Regions from separate parts of the Homo sapiens genome. Here regions 1 and 3 are each linked to region 2. Evidence: promoter capture Hi-C in human tissues and cell types (Jung and others, 2019). All regions are on one chromosome and are shown on one strand. Each heading gives the region's core, a stretch centred on a gene start or on the middle of the fragment in contact. The rest is flanking DNA. Distances are from core to core; before and after follow the strand shown.

The links. Contacts are between HindIII fragments. The study calls those that stand out against the background at their distance.
Region 1: a fragment that was not itself captured here is called in contact with the fragment with the promoter of APLNR in region 2 in 1 of the 25 tissues and cell types used here (adrenal gland).
Region 3: a contact is called between a fragment that was not itself captured here and the fragment with the promoter of APLNR in region 2, in 1 of the 25 tissues and cell types used here (adrenal gland).

The regions. Positions count from the first base shown.
Region 1 is chr11:57,077,553-57,080,527 of GRCh38, reverse strand. All of the region lies in intron 6 of LOC105369309 (a long non-coding RNA gene), which reads left to right. Among named protein-coding and RNA genes, the nearest start is that of OR5AK2, 90 kb to the right of the region's middle. The HindIII fragment of the contact is 9,153 bases long and covers 1-2,975 here.
Region 2 is chr11:57,236,000-57,238,992 of GRCh38, reverse strand. APLNR (apelin receptor) reads left to right here and starts at 1,743. Exons shown (of 1, transcript NM_005161.6): 1 at 1,743-2,993. The coding sequence starts at 1,989. RefSeq lists an enhancer at 1,469-2,101. The HindIII fragment of the contact is 13,017 bases long and covers 1-2,993 here.
Region 3 is chr11:57,017,480-57,020,587 of GRCh38, reverse strand. It overlaps the pseudogene OR5AK1P. Among named protein-coding and RNA genes, the nearest start is that of OR5AK2, 30 kb to the right of the region's middle. The HindIII fragment of the contact is 4,836 bases long and covers 1-3,108 here.

The DNA of each region.
Region 1 (2,975 bases), core at 154-2,653, 160 kb after region 2:
TATAAAGAGAGAGAGAGAGACAGCGACAGAGAGAGAGAGAGAGAGATTGATTGATTCATTCATTCAGAATGGAAGCCAGAGACTTTTTGTATTTTAATCTTACTAATCTCTTGGAAGTGGCATCCCATTACTTTTTCAGTATTCTATTTACTATAAGGGAGTCACTAAGTCCTGCCCACACTCAGGGCATCAAGGGGAGTGGATAACACAGAGCATGCACACCAGGAGGCAGGTATCACTGGAGATCATCTCAGAGGTTGCTACCACAGTTATAGAAAGAAATAGAATATTCCCTGTTGAGTTTGGACATTACTGTGTTATCATTTGGGCAGGCATTAACCAGGCCCAGTTCATAGCAAGGTCCAGAATGAGGCAGCACCCAAGCCTTTATGTGAATGTGCAGGGTTTGAGCAGAGGCTTTTTTTTTTTAAAGGAAGCTAATTTCTTGTTGTCATAGTGGAGATAGAGGTAGCATGCTGTGGGAGCTAAGAGGCGGCTCATATTTTTTCCAGCAGAGAGATCAGGAAAGACTCCTTGGAGGCAACAATGTTTAAAATAGCTTTGAAAAAAAGAGAAAATAGTAGAGAAAGCAGAGCTGGGATGGGAGGAAAGGACATTTAAAGAGGCGGGGCAGTGTGAAAAGAGGCCCAGAGGTGGAGAAGGCCAGAGCATGCTGTGAGAAGGCCATGCTGAAGGTCAATGCTGAAAGTCAAAGAGATATTGTAAAAGTGACCTAGGATGAGTGTTCCCACCACATCCCTTCTACCATTTCTTCATGAGCTTTCAAAGCCACACCAGACAATGTGTCGTTGTGGAAGCACAACCTGTAATTGCACGCAGTTCAGTGTCTCCACACTTGTTTCAGGGAAATGGCTTTAGAGCTAACTCAGAGCTCCTACGTCAAGGAGAAAGTTCAAATACTTGTACAAAAAATTTTCAATAGATTTGTTGCTTTACGTGTTGTAGGACTATTTAAGTCTGAAAAGTTGGCGTCTTCAAGTCTGCTTTTCCCTAATTATTGTAGCGCTGACTGTATGTGGAAGTAGCCAAGTCCGTGAAATGTTTTTGGAGCGGCCCTACTGCCTACTTGATTTCCATCATTCTAATACATCTGAGGTGTTAAGGGAAGAAATATAGTATTTCCTGTTGAGATTGGACATTACTGTAGTGTTTTATCATTTGGGCACGCATGAATCAGGCCCAGTTCTTATCAAGGTACAGAATGAGGCTTAGAGTCATGCAGCACCCAGGACTTTATGTGAATGTGCAGGGTTTGAGCATAAGTTCTAGAAGCCTTCTGTCAAAATGCAAATAACCACCCTATGGCAAAGGTACTTTTATCACTTAGCTGGGAGATGGTGGGCACTCAATGGCTGCTTGGTGTCAGGGGCTGAACCAGAATCCAGAGAAGGTAGGGCCAGCTGAGGCACCACAGCGTGAGGGGTACATGGTTATCAGGGGACCCAAAGACAGCAGGAGGAGGATTCCAGAGGCCAGAGCAAGAATCCTACAAGGTTAGAGTTGGAAAAGCCTGAGAGTTTAAGATCACCACGTTATTTTTTAGTGAGGAATCTCAATGGAAAACTGAAATGGTAATATATGGCATGATAGCTCACTGCATGGAGGTGAAGCTGGAATTTAGGGCCCCCAAAATAAAATTGAGTGACGAGCCCCATTGTGCTAGCAGCAGAATCAAGAATAGTGCACAAGTCTACGTGACCTTCCAAGATCCTTCCTTTCAGTTCTAGCCTCTTTCTGCCATAAGCCCTTGGTTCCACACCTCTTCGTAGCCACTGCTGACCTACCTCACATTAAAGTGATAAGCATATGAATCTTTTTTCCCCTAAATAACTGAGCATTTATCGTTTGTGATTCAATGCACAGTCTCCCTCCTTCTGGTAGCAGCACCCTAAATTTCCCCTAGGAAACCCACTCTGCTCCCTCAGTTTTGTGATTGGGTAGAATTGGCCTCATCTTCAGATTCAGGGGCATGTGCTTCATTACCTCACCCTCTGCCACTGTTTCAGAGAGGGGAACACATCCCAAGCGGAATCTCTGTTGAGATATATCCTGGGACTTGTAGAAAGAAAGGCTTTCTCTTGTTTACCTGGCTTTGGTTGTGCAAGGCTTAGAGCTGTTTCAGTCATTTGCTACCAGGAAGGGGACCATCCTGAGGCTGAGAATAACACATAAAGGAGGCTGAGCTGAGACATGCAAAGAAACTAAGCTTGGATGTTATCATTTGAGTCTCTGGAACAACTAAAGCCAGTTTCAACCCTTAGAGTGTTTGGCTACTTGAGCCAATAACCTAGAGTGATCCTGTTAAAACCGAAGCCAGCGACTGGGCGTGGTGGCTGACACCTGTAATCCCAGCACTTTGGGAAGCCGAGGCCGGTGGATCACAAGGTCAGGAGTTCCAGACCAGCCTGACCAACATGGTGAAACCCAGTCTCTACTAAAAATACAAAAATTAGCTGGGCGTGGTGGTGTGTGCCTGTAATCCCAGCTACTCAGGAGGCTGAGAGGCAGGAGAATTGCTTGAGCCCAGAAGATGGAGGTTGCAATGAGCCGAGATCACACCACTGCACTCCAGCCTGTGACAGAGTGAGACTCTATCTCAACAAAACAAACAAACAAACAAACAAATGAAACACATAAGCCAGAAAATGGTACCTATCGGCTCAAAACTCTGCAACAGCTGCTTGTAAGACTCTAAGAACAACCAGCATCCTTATAATGACTTGCAAGGCTTTCTGTGCTCTAACCTGCAGTTATTTTCCCCCACCCAACCTGCTCATTCCACTCTGGCCACACAGTGGAGTCTTGGTGTTTTTTAAAACAAATAAGAAATGCTCCTGCTGTGGGTCATTTATCTTACTATTTCTTTTGCCTGGAAGTCTTTTCCTCCAGATAGCTGTACCTCCTTCAACTCTCTCACTTTCTTCAAGTATGTGTTCAAATGTCACCTTCTCAAG
Region 2 (2,993 bases), core at 494-2,993:
GGGTCTTGGCTGTGTTATTCAGGCTAGTCTTGAACTCCTGGGCTCAAGCAGTCTTCCTGCCTTGGCCTCCCAAAGTGCTGGGATTATAGGCATGAGCCACCTTGCCTGGCCAATTCCAGCTTTTGTAAGTCTTTTGCCTTGGAAGTGGCTAAGGCTCAGCTCCTGCTTTTGTTCCATCTCACTATTACCCAACGTCAGGTGGCTTCCCCAACTCTTCAAGGTTGTGGAAAGGGTGCGTATTTTTTAAAAAAAATCTTACGTCGTGCATCTTCCTTCCTTCCTAGAGGTCCTGGAGAGGTGATGAGCTGGGGCAAAGTGAGCGTCTACGGAACTTTCCCCACAGTATCCTCCAGTGACTGAGTCTTTCTCTAGAGACCCCCCTCCTCTAGCTCAACTTCCTGACCCCCTGTGGTCTTACAGAAACCTCTTGGTCCATGGAGGATAGTAAAAACCTGAGAACTGAAATGTATCCATGTTCTCACCACGTAGTAATTCTTACACTTGTTCTTCCATCTATGGATTCCCCTTTTCACTCACCTCCTACATCATCCATCCACTTACTCACTCAACAGCCATTCACCTGGCTGGGCGTGGTGGCTCATGCCTGTAATTTCAGCACTTTGGGAGGCCGAGGTGGGTGGATCATCTGAGGTCAGGAGTTTGAGACTAGCCTGGTCAATCCCCATCTCTACTAAAAATACAAAAAAATTAGCCTGCAATCCCAGCTACTAGGGAGGCTGAGGCGGGAGAATCGCTTGAACCCAGGAGGCAGAAGTTGCAGTGAGCCTAGACCAGCCTGGGCAACAAGAGTGAAACTCTGTCTCAACAAACAAACAAACAAACAAAACAGCCATTCACCTACGACATGCCAGGTACTGTATTATGTTCGTGTTTGGAGAAGAAGAAAAGCAAACAATCAACTGTAGCATAATTCACTTTATTACCTTGGGCAAAACATTGACCTTGTTGGGCCTTTGTTTCCTACAGATTTAATGACTTGTTTAGAGATAATTTTGTCCTGGGTTTCTTCCATCCTGTGACTGCCCTCAACCTTCTAAAGCATCCTGTGCCTTCCGCAAACTGCAAACTGCAGTCTACACTAGTGTAGGGGTATTTCTCTAGAAACCACAAAAGTTCTCAGAGGGAGGGTCAAAGCCAAGGGGTAGAGAAAGATGAAGCGAGAGGCAAAGTGGGAGAAGACCCTCCTGTGACACCTGGTCTGGGTGGGGGCTGGGGGTGCAGGAAGGGAGCCGAGGGGGCCAGACCTGCCTGCCAGGAGGACCTGCCAGATGCCCTGCCCATCCTGCGAAATCTTACACCCTCCTTGCTCCCTACCAGCCCTGGCTCCAGCTCAAGCTGGATTGCAATCTGCATAATGTGTCCCATTTAGATTGGATGGAAGGGGGTGAGAACAGGAGGGCGGAGAGCACTGAGGAGGGAGTGCCCTAAAGGGCAGGCAGGAAGTGGTGGCCAGAGGAAAGTGGAGGGATAGGGGCTGGGGTGAAGGTGGGTGGCAGCCAGAAAGGAGAGGCGGGGCCAGGAAAGCCGACTTGCAAAACCACAGATAATGTTCAGCCCAGCACAGTAGGGGTCAATTTGGTCCACTTGCTCAGTGACAAAAAGAAAAAAAAAGTGGGCTGTCACTAAAGATTTTGACTCACAAGAGAGGGGCTGGTCTGGAGGTGGGAGGAGGGAGTGACGAGTCAAGGAGGAGACAGGGACGCAGGAGGGTGCAAGGAAGTGTCTTAACTGAGACGGGGGTAAGGCAAGAGAGGGTGGAGGAAATTCTGCAGGAGACAGGCTTCCTCCAGGGTCTGGAGAACCCAGAGGCAGCTCCTCCTGAGTGCTGGGAAGGACTCTGGGCATCTTCAGCCCTTCTTACTCTCTGAGGCTCAAGCCAGAAATTCAGGCTGCTTGCAGAGTGGGTGACAGAGCCACGGAGCTGGTGTCCCTGGGACCCTCTGCCCGTCTTCTCTCCACTCCCCAGCATGGAGGAAGGTGGTGATTTTGACAACTACTATGGGGCAGACAACCAGTCTGAGTGTGAGTACACAGACTGGAAATCCTCGGGGGCCCTCATCCCTGCCATCTACATGTTGGTCTTCCTCCTGGGCACCACGGGCAACGGTCTGGTGCTCTGGACCGTGTTTCGGAGCAGCCGGGAGAAGAGGCGCTCAGCTGATATCTTCATTGCTAGCCTGGCGGTGGCTGACCTGACCTTCGTGGTGACGCTGCCCCTGTGGGCTACCTACACGTACCGGGACTATGACTGGCCCTTTGGGACCTTCTTCTGCAAGCTCAGCAGCTACCTCATCTTCGTCAACATGTACGCCAGCGTCTTCTGCCTCACCGGCCTCAGCTTCGACCGCTACCTGGCCATCGTGAGGCCAGTGGCCAATGCTCGGCTGAGGCTGCGGGTCAGCGGGGCCGTGGCCACGGCAGTTCTTTGGGTGCTGGCCGCCCTCCTGGCCATGCCTGTCATGGTGTTACGCACCACCGGGGACTTGGAGAACACCACTAAGGTGCAGTGCTACATGGACTACTCCATGGTGGCCACTGTGAGCTCAGAGTGGGCCTGGGAGGTGGGCCTTGGGGTCTCGTCCACCACCGTGGGCTTTGTGGTGCCCTTCACCATCATGCTGACCTGTTACTTCTTCATCGCCCAAACCATCGCTGGCCACTTCCGCAAGGAACGCATCGAGGGCCTGCGGAAGCGGCGCCGGCTGCTCAGCATCATCGTGGTGCTGGTGGTGACCTTTGCCCTGTGCTGGATGCCCTACCACCTGGTGAAGACGCTGTACATGCTGGGCAGCCTGCTGCACTGGCCCTGTGACTTTGACCTCTTCCTCATGAACATCTTCCCCTACTGCACCTGCATCAGCTACGTCAACAGCTGCCTCAACCCCTTCCTCTATGCCTTTTTCGACCCCCGCTTCCGCCAGGCCTGCACCTCCATGCTCTGCTGTGGCCAGAGCAGGTGCGCAGGCACCTCC
Region 3 (3,108 bases), core at 469-2,968, 220 kb after region 2:
GCATGTACTCTTTTTCCATTTGTTTGTGTCCTCTCTGATTTCTTTGAGTAGTGTTTTGTAATTCTCTGCTAGTAGAGATACTTCATTTACTTGGTTAGATGTATTCTTAGATATTTTATTTTTTTGGTAGCTATTATTAATTGACTCGCATTCTTGATTTGGCTCTCAGTTTAACATTATTGATGTTTAGAAGTGCTACTGATTTTTGTACATTGATTTTGTAACCTAAAAATTTAGTGAATTCATTTGTCAGCTCCAAGAGCCTTTTGACAGAGTCTTTAGGGTTATCTAGATATAGAATCATATAGTCCACAAAGAGAGATAGTTTGACTTCTTCTTTTCCTATTTGGGTGTCTTTTGTTTCTTTCTCTTGCCTAATTACTCTGCTTAGGACTTCTAGAACTATGTTGAACTATGGTGAGAGTGGGCACCCTTGTCTTGTTGCAGTTTTCAAGGGGGAATGCCTTCAGATTTTGCCCATTCATTATGACATTGGCTGTAAATTTGTCATAGATTGCACTTATTTTAAGGTACATTGCTTTGATGCTTAATTTGTAGAGAATTTTTACAACGAAGGGATGTTGCATTTTATTGAAGGCTTTTTTTGCATCTATTGAGATCATATGGTTTTTGCTTTAAATGCTGTTTATGTGGTGAATGACATTTCATGATTTGCATATATTGAACCAACCTTGCATCCAAAGAATGAAGCCTACTTGATCATGGTGAAATAACTTTGGATGTGCTGCTGAATTTGGTTTGCTAGTATTTCATTGATGGTTTTGCATCTATGTTCATCAGGAATATTGGCCTGCAGTTTTCTTTTTTCATTGTGTCTTTGTCAGGTTTTAGTATCAGAGACCTGATGCTGGTTTCATAGAATGAGTTGCAAAGGAGTCCCTCCTGCTCGATTTTTTGAAATAGTTTCAGTAGAATTGGCACCAGCTCTTCTTTTTACATCTGGTAGAATTTGACTGCAAATTCATCTGGTCTGTACTTTGTTTTTGGTTGGTAGATTTTTGGTACTGTTTTCACTTCAGAACTTGATACTGGTCTGCTCAGGGTTTCAATTTCTTCCTTATTAAATCTTGGGAGTTTGTGGGTTCCTAGGATTTTATCCATTTCCTCTATATTTTCTAGTCTATTTGCATAAAAGTGTTCATAATATTCTCTGAGTATCTTTTGTATTTCTGTGGGATTGGTTGTAATGCCACCTTTGTTCTTTCTGGCTGTGCTTATTTAGATGTTCCCTCTTTTCTCGTTGTGAATCTGGCTAGCAGCCTACCAATCTTATTTATTCTTCCAAGAAACCAAATTTTGGTTTCATTAAGTTTTTGCATAAATATTTGTGTCTTAATTTTGTTCAGTTCGGTTCTGATTTTAGTTACTTTTTCTTCTGCTAGCTTTGGGATTGGTTGGCTCTTGTATTTTAAATTCCTCTAGAGGTGATGTTAGATTATTAATTTGACATCTTTCTACATATTCCTTATTGTAGAAAAATTAAATTTTGGCAGAACAGCTATGTTGGATGATTTGTTGAGCTGAATGTTAACAACTGGGGCTGATTTAAAAGAACTTTTTCCCTATCAATTTTAAAGCTTCTTTTACTTCCTTATTTCTCAAGCTATAGATTAAAGGATTCAACATGGGAATAACAGTGCCATAAAATATAGAGGCCACTTTCATATTCTCCTGGGAATTATTAGAATGAGACTGGTAAGTGCATGTAAGAGAGTGTCCCATAGAAAATGGCAACTGTGGTCAGGTGGGAGGCACATGTTGAGAAGGATTTTTTCCTTCCTGCACTAGAAGACATTTTCAGGATGGTGGCCATGATGTAGATGTAGGAAAAGATGACTACCAACCCAGTGAACATCAAGTTAAATCCCACAAAGACAACAAGTAGCATGATGTTGATGTCAATATTGGAGCATGAAAGGGCAAGAATTGGGGGACCATCACAGAAAAAGTGGTTGATGTTATTGGACTTGCAGAAAGACAGTGAAAATGCAAAACCTGTATGTACAGAGGCATTTATTGAGCCCATGATGTATGAACCAGCTACCAAATGGATGCAGACTGTTTGGGACGTGATTACGGTATAGTGAAGGGGCTTACAGATTGCAACATAATGGTCCACTGCTATCATAGCCAGGAGATAACAGTCACTGGTTGCAAATGTTGCATAAACCAATAATTGTATCATGCAGCCCCAAAATGATATCAAATTCTTTTCTTCCGTGAAGCTTTGGAGCATCTTGGGAGTGATAGCAGAAGTGTAACAGATATCAACAAAAGCCAAATGTTGTAGAAAAAAGTACATGGGTGTTTGAAATCTGGAATCTGTGTTGATGAGTAAGATTATTCCACTATTACCCATTATGGAGGTCACATAGATGAGAAGGAATATAATGAAGAGGATACACCAAAACTCTTGCTAGGCACCAAATCCCAGAAGACAGAATTCAGTCACTTCAGTGCTGTTTCCTCATGCCATGGCTACCAAAACTCTAGAAATGACCAAGAGAAGGACCCAGAAAAGAAGGGAAATCCTTGTGACTTCTTGCAATGAAATGGCTCTGTATTTCACGTCACTTTTTTCTATTTGGATTTTCATGACAAATACTCCCAATAGTGTTACTCATTTTCAAATTAAAAAAATGTATTTATAATCATCAAGTAAAGAGTGATCTACTTGATGAAAGAGGAAATGAATTCATCTTCAAAAGGAAAAAGGTTGTCTTAGAAGAAGACTGACTTCTAATGTGTGTAGTTCTTAGAAATATAGATGAGCAATTTTTCACTATATTAAACAGGCATCCATACCTAAAGTAATATTAAAACATAATTTTGTACCCCTTTAGTAACCTACAATTGTTCACAGCCACCTACCATTTTAATTTTGGATAAAGCTCTTGAAATTAGTACAATAAACTAGAGATAAATTTCCCTAAATATATTCATGCTTTACATATGTTTGAAGGCTTCAAAGTATCTTTGTATTTATATCTTTAGAATGCAACTCCCATCTAGGTGATATTCTTTACAAGCAAAATAAACCTGTTATATAATTGATGTCTGAGAAATAGCCTTACATTTTCTATTGCT